Linked DNA regions of Homo sapiens: region 1 is linked to region 2. Evidence: promoter capture Hi-C in 16 types of primary human blood cells and fetal thymus (Javierre and others, 2016). All regions are on one chromosome and are shown on one strand. The core of a region is centred on a gene start or on the middle of the fragment in contact, and the rest is flanking DNA. Distances in the headings are between cores, read along the strand shown. Region 1 holds the start of TSC22D2 (TSC22 domain family member 2). Region 2 holds the start of GYG1 (glycogenin 1).

Region 1 (5,288 bases), core at 2,043-4,542, 1.4 Mb before region 2:
AGGTACTCACTCTGGCCGGAGGGCTGGACGGGCAGCAAATGTCCGGGCGGTATCTGAGGCTGAGGATACGCGAACTGCTGGGGCTGCTGCGCCGCGGGGGCGCCCACTGCAGGGCCCGGCTGCGGAGGCAGGGACATAGCCGGCTGCGCCAGGGTTACATTCGTCGGCGGCAGAGTCTGTCCCCCGGGCCCCGCTCCCTGGGGCTGGCTGGGCTGCGCGGCTGCCATCATTGGCTGCGGCCCGGTCGCGGCTCCCGGGAACGGCGGCAGCGGAGCCGAGCTTTGAGCCACAGCCCCACCTACGGGTGGCGGCGGCGGCTGTGGCTGCCCAACGCTAAAACTCTGCGGCTGGGCCGGAGTGGGCTGGCTCATTTTCTCCGACGGGGGTAGCTGTGACACAGCAGTCAAGGAGCTGTCAGTTCCCGACTCGGGCCCGTGCGCCCCCTGCATGGAGGCCACTACTACCACCACCGACCCTCCGGTGGCGCCCAGGCCGCTGTCCCGCTCCGCAGTCTGGTCAAAAGTACTGCTGTGTCTAATGCAATCCCCGGATCTAGTCAGGACGCTGCTGTCTGAATCCCTCTCATAGTATTCCATACACGTCCATCGGCCGCGTCTATAGGGCTCTCCGCTCCCGTGGTCCAGCTTGATCACGCGAAAACGGGAACTACATGTGGTGGGAGGCTGAGATGGGGCTGCAGTCACTGGCCCGGCGGATGAGCCCGCGAGCTGGGGGCCGCCGGGTGCTCCGGGGGCGGGGGCCGAAGTGGCAGCCGCCGCCAGGGTACTGGCGAGCGCCCCAGACACGCTCCGGGCCGAAACGACTCCTCCTCCGTTGGCGGGAGCAGCAGCCGCCGCTGCCAGCTGCCCATCTAGGAGGAGGTTTGGGGAGACGGTCCCGGGAGTCTCCGCATCCCCAACATTGTTAAGCGTCTCTTCGGAAGAGCTGCGCTCGCAGACCTCCTCAGGGCCATAATCCGTGGCCCGAGAGACGTCGAAAATCTCGGAGGAGACGTCCTCTGTGCGTGACTCGTCCGGGTCGTCCAAGCTCTCGGTGTCCTCGGTGATGCTAGTGGCCACCTGGGCCGTGGTGACACTGGTGATCTGGAAGCAGCTCTTCTTCTTGGCCGGCATCTTGGACATGGTGAAGAAGGCTGGAGGGCAGAGAGGCACGCCGGCTCCTCTGGGTCCTGTCGGAAACCGGGGAGGGCAGAGCACGGGCCCCCAAAGACAAAGTCCGAGTCTGCGCTGGGGTCTGAGGCCCGCCGCTGTTAAGAGTCACGGGCTGATCCAGGCGCTGGCCGCCCGGTGAGACATCCTCCTCCTCGTTTCCTTCTCTGTGTCGGTCTCTTCGGCTCTGCCCCCGTCTCAGTCCCGCGGCGGCTCCTCCTTCCTTTTTAGCTCTCGCAGCCGCGGCGCCTCAATTCAATTCCCTCAGAGGCGGCGAGAGCGCGAACCCAGGGGCGGGCCGGCTGCTTCCTCTCTCGTCTCCGGGCAGCCGTGGTCAGTCCAGCTCGGCGCTCGGCGCGGTCAGCAGGCCTTGGCTGGGGGTGGGAGTGGGAGGGCGAAGAGGAGGAGGAGGAGGCGGTGGCGGCGGCGTGAGGGGCGGTGCTGCCCCGCTCGGGCTCCTCAGGCCGGTGCCGGCGTCAGCGCTGGGCTCTCTGACTGAGGGAAGGAGCGGCGAGTCCGGAGTCGGAGATGCCTAATTCAGCCGGGAGCCGCGGGCCGGAGCTGGCTGAAGGTCCGCGGGCGGGCGGTGGGGCTGTGGCGCGGGCAGGCGGCCCTCCCTCCCCGGCTCTAGCCGGAGCTCAGCCCCAGGGACATGTCGACTGCCTCAGGCGGAAACCCGCTCTGGGGGAGGGGAAAGCCGGCTCGGTCCTCCCCTTACAGGGGGAACCACCCCTGCGGGCGGGCGGCGACGGCGGTCTCGGCCTCCCCTCGCGGCTTCTCTCAGAGAGGGGCGGCGGCGGCAGACCGCTGGCACGGGACCGGAGGCGCCCCGGCTGTGTGAGGTAGCGGTGGTGGCTTCTCCGGCTCCTCCTCGGTGCGCCCAATTCCTAAACCCCGAAGAAACTGAAATTCAAACTGCTGAAGCGGCGGCTGCAGCTCCCTCCGCTGGGCCAAGATGGGGCTGAAATGGCCGCGCCAGGGATGCTGGGAGGAGCAGCAGCCCCGCTGCCGCCGCCGCTGCCGACTAAAATGCCGCCGCTGCCGCAGCCACCGCCAGCGCCGCAGCCGCCGCCGTTCCGTGACGCACCGGCGTCGTGACGTCACCGCTCCGCCCCCTCCGGTTTCCTGCAGTTTCGCGTGGAACCTGGGGTGGGGGGCAATGGGCGGGGCTAAAGGTTAAAAAAGGGAGCGGTTTCTTTATTTAAAATTTTTAAAATTTAAATTTTGTGTTGTAGGTTCTTTAAGCATTGACGAGCTAAAGACCATTTTAAATTCTAAGCCTAGGGAAGCTTACAATGGAACTAATCAGATGTTTTTATGTCGGTTTGTTCCGAGACAGTGGAAGACTGGAGGTCATGTGCTTGTGTCTAATGTTTAGCAAAATCTTAGTGAAACGAGGGCGATAGGAATGGGGGCTGGGGAAGACTTAGATGGGATAAAAAGAGGTGCGGCTGGAAGAACTAAATCACTTTAAAACTTCTGAAAATAAATGTTGACCATTGTAGTCAGAGGAGTAAAATGTTCAGAGAAATGGGGATGATTAAACAAGAACGGCAAGCCAGATTGAGTCAGAAAATTATCTTCCTGCCAGAAATTCTGTCTCCCACAACGGCATCAGGGGGTGGTTACTTGCCCAGGGTGTAGTCAGTTTTTAAAAAGCTTAAGGGTTACCAACATATTCCTAAATTTCCTGAATTTGCTGTGATTCCAGGATTCATTTAAACTCTTGAGACTGTTTTACTTTCGGCACGAAATCAGCTCATGGGCTTTATAAATGTAGAACCTACTGCATTATAGTTCTTCTTTTTGTTTATTCTAAAACTGTTAGTAGCAGCCAGCGTATTATATGATTTGGATTGGGCCATGAACAACCGTAACGAGTGATAAAGCACCCTTTCCTGTTCCAATGCAAAGAACAACTATGAAAAGAAAGTACTGGCAAATTTATCATCTTGTAGTTAGTTCCTGGCCAAAGAAAATGGTAAGGCCATTCTTTTAAGCAGTTAAAAAAAAATGGGGATGGGCTCTTAAACTTTGGCATGCTAAGGCCATTCTTTTAAGCAGTTTAAAAAAATGGGGATGGGCTCCTAAACTTTGACATACTAAAGCAGTCGTCATTTAGGTAAAATCTAAGTCTTAATGGAAATCGTGATTTCATATCTACTGCAGCGTTAGCAATCACATAATGATAACTTAAATCAGTAAATCGTTGAACTCGGTTCTCTAATCTTTGAAGAATAGAAATACTTTTTATCCCAAAAGATGTTTTGAGAATTAAATTTGCAGAGAATTTTTTAGGTCTTTAGTTGTAATTTATAGAGCTAGGTCTTTTAACTTTAGTGGAAACCATGCCCTCCAAACCCAAGTGACTGGAGTCAGAATGTGAAATAAGACGACATAAAATCCCTATTTCTTAAGGGGCTGGGCGAAAGTAATGGAACAAAATGTAACGTTATGCTATTGTGGCAGAGATAGCTAATGGAATGTTTCATTTCTAAGTCTGTAATTTCAGTAATTGTTAGAGGCAGTTTTCCATCAATAAGTTAGATCAAATGGTTAAACCCAATATGAATTTATAAAAGCTTAATTTAATTTTGGATTGATTTACCAGATGTTTAAGGTGGTTATAATGGGTAGTGTTGATGGTGGTGCTTTTGGAAAAATGAGTATTATATGCCTGCTCATCCCTTTACATTATCTTATCATATAAACTTCTTGATTACTCGTTATGATACTCTTAAATCGTACATTTAGAGGAAAAATCTTAAAGTAATCTGTAAGACCATTTCTCCTTAAAATGATATATTATGAGATGAAAGGAAAGATAAAGATAATTTAGAAGAGATCCAGAAGTGGACTAAATTTCTGGTAAGGAGGGGGCTAAAGATGTTAAAAGACATCTTAGGAAAAGCATATGATTTATAACTTTTAAAAGTGTCATTTAGATGGTTAAGGATTTGTGTTTAATAGTTCTCTTGAAAATATTGTTTTCCAAAAGTTTAAAAGCCCTAGCTACTTTTATACATTTGCCCTTAAAAAATGTACAGAATTTATTACATCAAACTGCTACAAAGAAATAAGAATTCTGATTTTTGCAAGTAAGTTGGAAATCAACGTAGAGGACAAAAAGTGGCATAGCTATATCTAAACAAAAAAGTATGTAATTCAAAAGTTGGTCCACAAAGAATTGAAAGCCTTTCAATAACTAATTTAAATGATAGAAAGCAGTATGTATATGCAAGTACATATGCTCCCTGTATAGAGAGTGGTTAGTAAGTAAGATGGTAGCCTAACTCACTGGAATAAAGAGATCCTTGGAGTCCCAAACCTCAAGACTAGGAGTCTTAATGCAGTTACCAGGCTGCATGCCTGTACCCAGAGACCATACTAGAGGCTGTGGGAATCCTCGATTACTGCTCTTAGAGCCCCCAACTTGACTGTTTCTTCTGTACCTGGTACTTTTTTCAAATATTTCAAATTGCAGTGATGCATGGGAGATACATTTAGAAAACATAATGCAGGGGAATAAAAGCAGTTAAAAACTAAGGACAGTTTCTACTGATGAAAATAAAAAACTGCTACAGCAACATCTTTTCATCATCTGTAAACATCATACCCCCAAATTTTCCTAAGTTATTATCTAACCTCATCAGTAGCAGATGGTGAATTATTTCATAGAAAATCCTGGAATGTAAACTCTAGATACTCAAGAAAACCTCTTTTTTTTCAATGAAGGTATATTATATTTAAAATAATAATGATGCATTAAACATTATGGGATAAAGAAAATACTTTCCATAGAAATTAAGCAATGGCCTAGGCAAAGAGAAGTAACCCTTTAGCATTAATACTATCAGTTAGACAGTGACATTTATTGAACATTCCCTGTGTTGTGTATTAAGAATTGGACTACCTATATCCCAGTCAACAATTTTTTCTGGAGTTTAGAAATAGTTTATGCTTATTTTCTGTGTTTTTTATTACCAAATTGTTATTAGTTTGGTGCAAAAGTAATTGTGGTTTTTGTCACTTACATGATGGCAAAAACTGCAATTACTTTTGCACCAACCTAATAGAAAAATACAAAATGGAGAATAGTTTTCAGGTTCCACAAAGCAT
Region 2 (5,685 bases), core at 838-3,337:
CGGCCACCCAGGCTGGAGTGGAGTGGTGTGATCATAGCTCACTGCAGCCTCGAACTCCAGGCATCTTATACATAACTGTTTCCTCAACGTGGAGCAAAAGCTCCCCTGCCCCAATATCCCTGAAAAATAACATTGAGTCTCTCCTCAAGTATCAGCTCCTCAAAGAGGCTTTCCCTCCTTGATGCTTCTATCTAAATAGTTATCAATCACTGATAAATAGATTTGGAGATCACCCAAGAAGCCCTAAACAACTGCCTGCTTTTCTTTGGAGAAGAAGGTGCAGGTCCATCCTGCACCCTCCCCCTCCCCCCGCCCAAACCAACAGACACGCACCCCAATCTCCAATAATCACTTAGTTGCCAGAAGAGAAGGTAAATACATGGATTTTTCCTCCTGCTGAACAGTCCCCACCCTCCCAAGACCCCTAGCACAGGCTTCAAGATTTCTCCAGTCATTCCCTGGGACAATTCTGGGCCATGTTCCATCTCCAAGAAACATTAGCAAGTTGGTGGGCATCCAAATGCATAGGACACTTCGGATCAAGTTCTGGTAGGAGTCAGTTGCTTAACCAGCGAGTTGGGACATTTTGTCATGAAGTCCTTCTCTTTCTGACCTGGCTTTCCCTCATTCTCCCTTGCCCGTTTTCCAAGGTGGAGGCTGGAAGCAGTAGAAATTCCACCGAGACATGAGAGGAAGTTGTGGGTTGCCTAGTGGGCCAGCGCATCCCTCGGCTGCTGACCTGAGAGCCATCTTCACACATTTTATTAGGCCCTCTCCCACGGCAGGCCAACTACTAAGTTGTAGGAAGACCAGTTCCCCACCCCCGAAGGGCCACCAGCTTCCCAGTCACTCACACTCTAGGAAAGCTCTGAACAGTGGCACCTGTCCCTTGACAGGCCCATCAACATCCGCCTGTACTTGCTTCTATTATCTTCAGCCCATTATAACATGGGTAACATCGCTGTCAATCTGTACCAAAAATACTTAAGCTAGGCAAAATGAATGATCATCTAACTCAAATGAAGTCCAGGTTCCAGGCGATCATGGAGAAAAATGTAATAAGGTGAGCAGGATTCAAGGATTTCTGGAAGCAAGGATATGGATGATTTCCAAGATTAAATAAGGGATAGAACACAGGTTAGAACACCAGACTAGCCAACATTACAAATGACCAAGAAAGACCAATGACAGCTGGGTAGGAGTTTAATCTTCCTAAAGACGGCTGAACTCTGGGTTACACCTGCAATCTTTGTGGCAGTTCAACTGCTGTAATAACCCTGGCTATTAGCCTCAATGACACGGAAGGACCAGCTAACTCGGAGCTTCCCAGTGCTGGGGCTAACTCGTGGAGTGGCCCGGACGCCTCGCAACAAGTGAAGCCAAAGCCGGCGCCCTCCCACCAGACGGGGCTCGCGCCCGGGGACGCTAGTCCGACTCCCGGCTTCCCGCAACCCGGCCCCAAAGGCCTAAAAATAGGCTCAGCGTGGCGGCCGGGGCCGGGGCGGGCGGCGGAGGAGCCGGGCGGAGGCCGCAGTATCCCCGCCTCGGAGCCCCTGCTTCCTGGGGTTCCGGGCCGCCAGAGGCCGGGGCAGCTCCCCACGATGCCGCTGCGCCCCGGACTCCCGCCTGGAACCCCCAGGGGAACCGGCTCCCCACCCCCACACGGCCCCGCCGCAGCTGCTCCGCCCGCCGGCCCTTCGCCGTGAGAGCAAGAGGAAGGACGAGGAGACGGAAGCAGGAACGAGAGCTCCGGCCGAGGGCCCGGGCTCTGCCCGGCTGCCCCATCCCTGCACTCTGGGGGGCGGCGGGGCGGCAGCTGACGCAGGCAGAAACACGCCCGGCTGCGGCCAGCCAGCAACTTTGCGGCGGTTTCGTCCTGCCGGGAACACTCCGGGGCTGAGGGCGGAGGAGAAGGGAGGCGGCGGCTGGGCAGGAAGCCGGGGTCCCGGGGCTGGCGGCGGCGGGCTGCGCGGCGGTACCTGTCATGGTGCTGCCGGGTGCGCAGGCGGCCGGGGCAGCCTCAGGTTGGTGACTCAGAGAAGCCGGCACCGGGAGGGAGCGCGGCCAGCGAGGAGGCACGGCGGGGAACCGAGCGTCTGCCCCGTGCGCTCTTATAGCGGCCGTCACGTGGCCGCGCACGCTCTCGCTGCCGTCCGCATCCTCCCAGCTGCGCGGCCGGCAGGGGCGGTGGCCCGCGGGGCTCCGGGTCCCGCGTCTCCCTCGGCTCCTCCTCCCTCCCTCGGGGCTAGGCTGCCGCTGCGGCTGCGGCTCACCGGCGCCCCTGCTCCTACTTCCCCGGGGCGCCTGCCCTTGTCAACCGCGCGCCCCCTGTCGCCGCTAAACCTGGGAGTTAAGGGGGACTTTGGGGCTGAGTGCGGCATCAAACTCCCCAAGAAGCCAAGGGTTAGGGAACCTTAAAAAACAAGCAAACAAACCCCAGATTACTCTAGTTAAAATCGTGAGTCTGAACTGCTTGAATGAAACGTAAAATTTACGCTTTTTTTGCAGAATTTCGATCAGCCTCTATAATCATTCCTTAGTGTACTCACAATGGTTTTGTACCCTTAACCTAAAAAATATAGTGAATATTTCGTAAATGTTAAATTCTTGGAGCCATCTGCATCAATTAGGCATTTAAGTGCTTCATTTAATCCTTGTACGAACTCAGTGAGGTGTTACATATTCATTTTACAGACGAGGAGGAAACTGAGCTCAGAAAAGTTAAATTAACTTTTCTTTTCTTTTTTTTCTTGTATTTTTAGTAGAGACAGAGTTTCACCATGTTGGCCAGCCTGGTCTGGAACTCCTGGCCTCAAGTGATCTGCCAGCCTTAGCCTCCCAAAGTGCTAACTTTTCTATAGTCATATAATATAAATGGAGAAAGTAGGATTTAAACCCTGGCAGTTTGGTTACAGAATCAACCTTCCCACCCAGAAAGTCTTGGTGCCTCTTGTACACAGGGGCTCCAAAAAGGTTAGTAAATTATTGTAACTGTGGTTAGCCAATGCTAACCTGTTTCACAAATCTTGAAATGGTCAATTTGTCATTTTTCTAGGAAGTTGAGAAATAGCTTTAATGTGATCACATCCTTCTCTGCTCCCCATCCCCAGTCCAAACACAGAACAAGCCTCGGGTAGTTCAGTTCTCTGCAAACTGAAAACTGAAATTGCTCGGTAAATGTTGAATGAGTACTGCAAAGCCATTTGGAAACCAATCAGGAAGTTGACATCAGTTCAAAAAGCAAAACAGATGCTTAAGAATAAGTGATTTATTTGCAAAGGTGGTACTGCTGTCCTCAAACCAGTTATATCACTGTTTCCTCGTGTGTGGGTGTGGATCTCCTACATCAGAATCACTTGGGGGCACTGGTTAAAGCGTAGATTTTTGGGCCTAAGCCCAGACCTCCTGAATCAGAATCTTAAGGGTAGGTTTATTTTGGTGCAAAATAATTTTGAAATCCATGCATTTTTTTTTTATAATATGTATATTCTATGGACTTTTTGAAGTCGCGTCATATACTCTTGAGGTAATGAAATACTCTGTAGGCATAATCATTATATATTTTTAATATAAAAAGCTGTTCAAAATATATTATTTGAAGAAAAACAGGTTACAAAACAAAAAGAATCTTAAGGGTAGAACCTTAAAATCAGTATTTTAAATATCACCTTCCAGGAGCCTCTCTTGAGTCCTTCCTAGTCTTGACCATGGCCTAGAGACCGCTGATCACATGGGAGGCCCTCCCAGTTACTTGGCATTATGTGCTTCCGTTGTAGGAAACAGAAAAGTGGAAAGGGCAATAGATGGGTTTCCACTTATTCAAAAGATATAGACATAGAAGAGTTGGAGCTCTTTAAGGAACACAAAGGCTACACTTTTGTATCTTAAGTGGGGAGAGGGAAAACAAAGAGAGGTACTTCTCAGTCTGATTGCTCTTTTGCAGACTGAGAGGTGAACTTGGAAGAGTGAGATTTCCATCTTTCACCCAGAACCCTCCTGCCATCAGCTGACCCTTAACCATCTACTTCTTGCAGCCTACTATCTCAGGCTGGACTTAGCCAGGGATGTGGTGATGGGGCTGAAAGGGCAAAGCCAGGAGGTAGAACTGGGGACAACTGGGAAAAACAGAAAAGCTTCCCTTAGAACAAGCTCCTCTCTGCTGCAACTCCCAGGACGTTTAAGTAAAAGGAACGGTTACCACAGCTTCCCTTCCTGAGCTTCATGTATATTTACACAAATAGAAAGTTTACAGCTTTTACCACTTTGAATCAAATAGGGACATTTTGAGGTTGCTACAATCTGTTCTTCTTCATTGTCTTAATATAGATCATAATGACCCCACTGCCTACTTTTCCTGAGGCTGCCCTGCAGTGAGCTTCAGTCTGGTGTGAGAGCAAGACCTCTCAAACTTTAATGCGCACACAGATTGCCCAAGGATCTTATTAAAATGCGGATTCTGACTCAGTAGTTTGGGGGTGGGTCTCCCAGGTGATCCCCAGGCTATGGACCCACACTTTGAATAGTGAGGTGTTCAAACATTTTGGATTGTAAGGCCTTAGAGGTAGTGGATAAACATGGTATAGTGAGGCAAATGTTTCAGATTTTAGCTTGTTATTTTTTTTCTTGTGAAACTTGAACTAGTAAAATTACAGAATCCTAAAAGAAAGATTTAAGTTAAAAAAGATAAGTTATACCCTACATCAGTAGGCATGACTATTAACCATTTAAACCTATGCTGAATTCATATATTCGGAATGGTCCAAAATTCATTTTAAATTGGCTTTGTAATGCATTATGTAATTTTTTTGGCAGGATACTTACCTTCCTAATTAAGTTTTGTTTAAGATAATGCTGAAATCAGTTTGCATTCTTTTGAGCACACACACTAATTGATGGTGGGGGCAACTGACCTGGAAATATATTCCGGAGCAGAGGGCAACCTACTCGCCTGAGAATCAAATGGTTCCCACGGAAAGTTTGTGAAATACATATACCACATCTGGCCAGACACAGGAACTAACTAGTCAACTAACTTAAAATTTTGCCCTTAATTGATAACATACACAATCTGTACCTGGGATTGTTGTCGGTAATCACAATATCAAGCAAAAGTTTGGTTTCAAGAAATAATATCCTTGGAGGCCCAAAGTAGTCCGTTCTTCACTTGAAAGCTAGAGTCCCAAACTCCAAAAGTTGCAGTAGCCTGATGGCTGGTTACATAGCTTTTTTTTTTAATCCTTATTGTTACATAACTCACATTGTGTAAAATTCAGCCACTTGTGCTGAATTAAAGTGTATACCTAAATGGTTTTTAGTGTATTCACAGAGTTGTACAACTATTACCACAATCTAAGTTTAGAACAATTTCATCAACCCAAAAGAAATCTGTACCCATTAGCAGTCACTCCTTACTCTCTTCTTCTTTCCCTCAGTCCTGGGCAACTACTAATCTACTTTCTGTCTAAACATTTGTCTATTGAGATTTACCTATATGTTGTCTTGTGTAACTGGTTTCTTTCATTTAGCATAATGTTTTCAAAGTTCTTCCATGTTGTGAAACGTATCAATATTTCATTTCTTGGCCAGGTGCAGTGGCTCACGTCTCTATTGCAGCACTTTGGGAGGCTGAGGCAGGCAGATCACCTGAGGTCAGGAGTTCAAGACCAGCCTGGCTAACATGGCGAA

What was found. Contacts are between HindIII fragments. The CHiCAGO score rates a contact against its expected background, and 5 or more counts as called.
Region 1: a fragment that was not itself captured here is called in contact with the fragment with the promoter of GYG1 in region 2 in 1 of 17 cell types (naive CD8 T cells); the score reaches 6.1 in naive CD8 T cells.

Annotation. Positions count from the first base shown.
Region 1 is chr3:150,405,205-150,410,492 of GRCh38, reverse strand. TSC22D2 (TSC22 domain family member 2) reads right to left here and starts at 2,195. Exons shown (of 3, transcript NM_001303264.2): 1 at 1-2,195. The coding sequence starts at 1,142. RefSeq lists enhancers at 1-378, 1,085-1,134 and silencers at 125-404, 665-834, 1,505-2,104. The HindIII fragment of the contact is 923 bases long and covers 2,831-3,753 here.
Region 2 is chr3:148,987,942-148,993,626 of GRCh38, reverse strand. It overlaps GYG1 (glycogenin 1), which reads right to left and starts at 2,087. Exons shown (of 8, transcript NM_004130.4): 1 at 1,980-2,087. The coding sequence starts at 1,986. RefSeq lists silencers at 1,071-1,365, 1,399-2,448. The HindIII fragment of the contact is 9,660 bases long and covers 1-4,135 here.